Linked DNA regions of Homo sapiens: region 2 is linked to region 1. The links are contacts of gene promoters, found by promoter capture Hi-C in blood cells and fetal thymus (Javierre and others, 2016). All regions are on one chromosome and are shown on one strand. Each heading gives the region's core, a stretch centred on a gene start or on the middle of the fragment in contact. The rest is flanking DNA. Distances are from core to core; before and after follow the strand shown.

The links. The method cuts DNA at HindIII sites, captures the fragments that hold promoters and counts their contacts. A CHiCAGO score of 5 or more calls a contact.
Region 2: a fragment that was not itself captured here is called in contact with the fragment with the promoter of ANKS4B in region 1 in 1 of 17 cell types (total B cells); the score reaches 5.0 in total B cells.

What each region holds. Positions count from the first base shown.
Region 1 is chr16:21,232,394-21,235,093 of GRCh38, forward strand. It overlaps ANKS4B (ankyrin repeat and sterile alpha motif domain containing 4B), which reads left to right and starts at 1,306. Exons shown (of 2, transcript NM_145865.3): 1 at 1,306-1,508. The coding sequence starts at 1,345. LOC105371123 (a long non-coding RNA gene) reads right to left here and starts at 1,209. Exons shown (of 2, transcript XR_001752344.2): 1 at 1,099-1,209. The HindIII fragment of the contact is 3,732 bases long and covers 14-2,700 here.
Region 2 is chr16:22,338,645-22,341,411 of GRCh38, forward strand. All of the region lies in intron 1 of LOC124903664 (a long non-coding RNA gene), which reads right to left. Among named protein-coding and RNA genes, the nearest start is that of CDR2, 35 kb to the right of the region's middle. The HindIII fragment of the contact is 4,639 bases long and covers 1-2,767 here.

The DNA of each region.
Region 1 (2,700 bases), core at 56-2,555:
AAATTTTGCCCTAAGCTTTTCTTTAACTGCATCCTATAAATCTTGATATGTGGTATTTTCATTTTCATTCTGTTCCAAATATGTCTGATATAGGACTTGTATCCAGAGTATATAAATAATTCTTATAATTTATTAATAAGACAACCACTTAAAAATTGGGCAAAAAGATTTGAATAGAAGATGTAAGAATGGCTAATGGGCACATGAAAAGATGCTCAATATCTTAGTCATTAGGAAATTGAAAATTAAAGCCATAATAAGACCACTTCATATCCACTAGGATGACCATAAACAAAAAGATAGGCAATAATAAGGCTGGCAAGGTTGTGGAGAAATTGAAACCCTCATACGTTATTGGTGGAAATGTGAAGTAGTACAGCCACTTTGGAAAACAGTCTGGCAACTTCTGAAATTTAAATGTAAATTGCCATGCAACCCAGCAGTTTCACTCCTTGATATATACGCAAGACACATGAAAATATGTGTCCACACAGAGACTTGTACATCAGTGCTCATAGCAGCATTATTCATCATTACTGAAAAATGGAAACAACCCAAATATTCATCATATTCATGAAACATTGAATGGATGAAGAACATGTGGTATGTTAGCACAGTGGAATATTATTCAGCAGTGAAAAGAAAGAAACCATTACATGCTACACATGACAAACCTCAAAAAAGTATGTGAATTGAAACAAGCTATACACTAAAGACTATATATTGTAGGATTCCATTTGTCTGAAATGCCCGTAAAAAACAAATCTATAGAGACAGAAAGCAGACTGTGGTTTCCTGAGGTTGGGAGTGGAAATGGGATTGACAGCAAATGGCATGAGGGATCTTTAAGGGCTGATGGAAACTGGATTATGATAATGGGCATGCAACTCTATAAATGTCCTAAAAATCATTGAATTGTATGCATGAAATGGGTAAATTTAATGATGTTATACCTCAATAAAGCTGTTCTTTTTGGAAAAAACAGCTAGTGAACTAGAGTAGCTCTGCATTTTATTAAGAAATTATTTCTTACATCCTGTGCCTAGATGGCCAATATTACACTCAAGAAACTAATGGACATAGAAAAATTGAATGTACCTCCAAACACTCAAGATGAATACAGCAGTCTTCAATAGTCAACGTCATGGCCATTCCAGAGAGAAAAGGTCCAAGTTCAGTGCCTCGAACCTTGTTGCCTTCCGTGAAAGGAAGCAGTTGAAATGAGCTTTGCCCCTGGTGACACTCTTCCTTGTCACTAATTAACCAGCTCTATAGGAAGGTTGCTCCGCCAACACCTTGCTCTGCCTGGAGAGACATCTGGCCAAGTTCTGGTGAGCAGGAAAAATGTCTACTCGTTACCACCAAGCTGCTAGTGATAGTTACCTGGAACTTCTAAAAGAGGCTACCAAGCGAGATCTAAATCTTTCGGATGAAGACGGCATGACTCCTACTCTCTTGGCAGCCTACCATGGGAACTTGGAAGCCCTAGAGATAATCTGCAGTAGAGGGTAAGTTCAACCCGATGGTTTCTGTTGGAAACAGTGTTCATGGTAGGTTTTTGCAGACAGCAGCAAGAGGCAGGGACGTCAATACAAATACTTTATCCTCTTTCTAGATTGTCTAAATGATTGGATTTTTAGAGAAAGAGAGAAAACTATGCCTAGAGATGCTCTCTTTTCTCACTGAGGACTGGCACTATAGGAGTGGCTCATCCCTTAGCCACAATCAGAGGAGAGACCCTGAACTACGGCATTATCTGCATGGGGAAGAGGGAAGATATTTTAATTCTATGCCTTTAAAAATGCTTTTCATGAAATTTAAATAGTTTTCTCTTTTCAAAGAGGCCATTGTTTTACTTGGTTTTAAGTTGCCAACCTTGGTTGGAACAAATGACATGGTTTTAGTTTTTTTTTTATCTATGCCATCAAAATCTCACAGTCTTTTATTAACTTTCAATCCCAGTGCAAGCTCATGATTTTTTTATTTTTTATTTTTGACACAGGGTCTTGCTCTTTTGAATGGAGTTGCTGGCTCTACAAGGACTCTTTAGCCTATCTTAACTCTATCACTTCTTTGGCTAGTGGATAGATACACACACACACACACACACACACACACACACACACACCCCATCTCTTTGCCCAGATTTTAATGGAGGAGTAAGCTAGTTCCTCTGCTTGTTCTGCCTGTTATCAGAGGGCTAGGTTGTGTTGGCAACCGTAACCCAAGAGGGGTAAAGAAAGAGAAAAGGACAAGGTAAATAAAGGAGCCAAGTGAATCCAATTGAATACCCATTTATTCAGTATTTGTTATGTGCCAGCCACTTATCTCTTAAGATAAGAGATATTTTGCTAGCCACTGGGCACACTGTGATCAACAAGACAGCCACAGTCCCTGTCATAGTGAGCAGATTTGAGAGGGGAAGACAAGACATCTATGATATTTGTGTGTGTGTGTGTGTGCATGTTTGCTCTGAGACAGGGTCTCACTCTGTCACTCAGGCTGGAGTGCAGTGTCAAGATCATAGCTGACTGCAGCCTTGAGCCCCAGGCTCAAGTGGTCCTCCCATCTGAGCCTCCCGAGTAGCTGGGACAAGAGGTGTGCACCACCATGCCCAGCAATTTTTGTACTTTTTGTAGTGATGGGGTTTTGCCATGTTGCCCAGGATGGTCTTCAACTTATGAGCTCAAGCGATCTGAC
Region 2 (2,767 bases), core at 72-2,571, 1.1 Mb after region 1:
CTCTGAGACAGAAGTTTATAGCAATCCCCACCCACATCAGAAAGAAAAGACTTCAGATAAACAACCCAATGTTACACCTCAAGGCACCAGGAAAATAAAAAGAACTAGGCCCAGTTAATAAAAGGAAATAGGCCAGGTGAGGTGGCTCACACCTGTAATCCCAGCACTTTGGGAGGCCAAGGTGGGCAGATCACCTGAGGTCAGGGGTTTGAGACTAGCCTGACCAACATGGAAAAACCCCATCTCTACTAAAAATGCAAAAAAATTAGCCATGTATGGTGACACGCTCCTATAGTCCCAGCTACTCGGGAGGCTGAGGCAGAAGAATCGCTTGAACCTGGGAGACGGAGGTTGCAGTGAGATGAGATTACGCTACTGCACTCCAGCCTGGGTAACAGAGCAAGACTCCATCTCAAAAATACATACATATATACATAAATGGAAATAATAAAGACCAGAGCAAGACTACGTCTCAAAAATAAATAAAAGAAAGGAAATAGTAAAGACCAGAGCTGAAAAAAATGAAAAGATCAACAAAATTCAGTTGGTTTCTTGAAAAGATAAAATTGACAAACTTCTAGCTAAGAAAAAATAGAGAAGACTCTCATAGAATTAGAAATGGAAAAAGATAATCCCAGCACTTTGGGAGGCCAAGGCAGGTGGATCACCTGAGGTCAGGAGTTTGAGATCAGCCTGGTCAATATGGTGAACCCCATCTCTACTAAAAAATACAAAAATTTGCTGGGCATGGTGGCAGGCACCTGTAATCCCAGCTACTTGGGAGGCTGAGGTAGGAGAATCACTTGAGCCTGGGAAGGGAATGTTGTAGTGAGCTGAGATCCCACCACTGCACTCCAGCTTGGGCGATAAGAGTGAGACCTTGTAAGAAAGAAAGAAAGAAAGGAAAGAAGGGAGAGGGAGAAGGGAAGACATTACAACTGATTCCATAGAAATACAAAGGATCAGGCCAGGCACGGTGGCTCATGCCTGTAATCCCAGCACTTTGGGAGGCCAAGGTGGGCGGATCACTTGAGGTCAGGAGTTTGAGACCACCCTGGTCAAAGTGGTGAAACCCTGTCTCTACTAAAAATACAAAAAATTAGCCAGGCATGCTAGCAGGTTCCTGTAATCCCAGCTACTTGGGAGGCTGAGGCAGGAGAATCACTTGAACCCGGGAGGCAGAAGTTGCAGTGAGCCAAGACCATGCCATTGCACTCTAGCCTAGGCAACATGAGCAAAACTCCATCTCGAAAAAAAAAAATTAGCTGGGTGTGGTGGTACATGCCTGTAATCTCAGCTACTTGGGAGGCTTAGGTGGGAGAATTGCTGGAACCCGTGAGATGGAAGTTGCAGTGAGCCAAGATCACGCCACTACACACTCCAACCTGGGAGACAGAGCAAGACTCTCTGTCTCAAAAAAAAAAAAAAAAAAAAAAAAAAGAGAAAAGAAAAGAAATACAAAGGATCCTAAGAGACTACCATAAAAAATTACCAGCAAACTGGATAACCTACAAGAAATGGATGAGTTCCTAGACACATACAGCCTACCAAGACTGAATCACAAAGACACCGAAAATCTGACCAATGAGTAAGAAGGTTGAATCAATAATTTTAAAAAGTCTGCCATCAAAGAAAAGCCCAGGACCTGGTGGCATCATTGCCGAATTCAACTAAACATTTATGGAAAACTACTACCTATCTTTCTGAAACTTCCAAAAATTTGATGAAGAGGAATACTTTCAAACTAATTTTACAAGGCCAGCACTACCCTGATATCAAATCCAGACAAGGACACTATAAGAAAAGAAAATTAGGCCGAGCACAGTGGCTCATGCCTGTAATCCCAACACTGCGAGGCCAAGATGGGCAGATCACCTGAGGTCAGGAGTTTGAGAACATCCTGGCCAAAATGGTGAAACCCCGTCTCTACTAAAAATTAACCGAGAGTGGTGGCGCATGCCTGTAATACCAGCTACTCAGGAAGCTGAGGCCGGAGAATCGCTAGAACCTGGGTGGCGGAGGTTGCAGTGAGCCAAGATCGCGCCACTGCACTCCAGCCTGGGCGACAGAGCGAGACTCCACCTAAAAATATAAAGAAAGAAAGAAAGAAAGAAAATAAAAGCAAATTAGACCAATATCCTTATATCCTTGATGAACACAGCTGCAAAAACCTCACCAGAACTAGCAAACCAAATTCAGCACATTAAAAGGCTCATTCACCAGGATCAAGTGGGATTTATCCCAGTCTGGGCAATATAGCAAAACCCCATCTCTGCAAAAAAAAAAAAAAAAAAAAATTTTTTTTTTTTAATTAGCCAGGTGTGGTGCTGTGTGCCTATTGTCCCAGCTGCTTGGAAAGCTGAGGCAGGAGGACTGCTTGAGCCCAGGAGTTTGAGACTGCAGTGAGCTATGACCACCACTGCACTCCAGCCTGAGTGACAGAGTGAGACCCTGTCTCCAAAACAAAGTTGGATTTATCCCTGGGATGCAAGGATGGTTCAATGGTTCAACATATGCAAATCAATAATTGTGATACACCACATTAACAGAATGAAGGACAAAAACCATATAATCTTCTCAATAGATGCAGAAAAAGCATCTGAAAATTAACAACCATTCATGATTAAAAAATCAACAAACTAAGTATAGAAGGAATGCCCACTCTTACCTCTTCCATTCAACAAAACACTGGAAGTCCTAACTATAGCAATTGCACAGGAAAAATAAAAGGCTGGTGGCTCACGCCTGTCATCCCAGCACTTTGGGA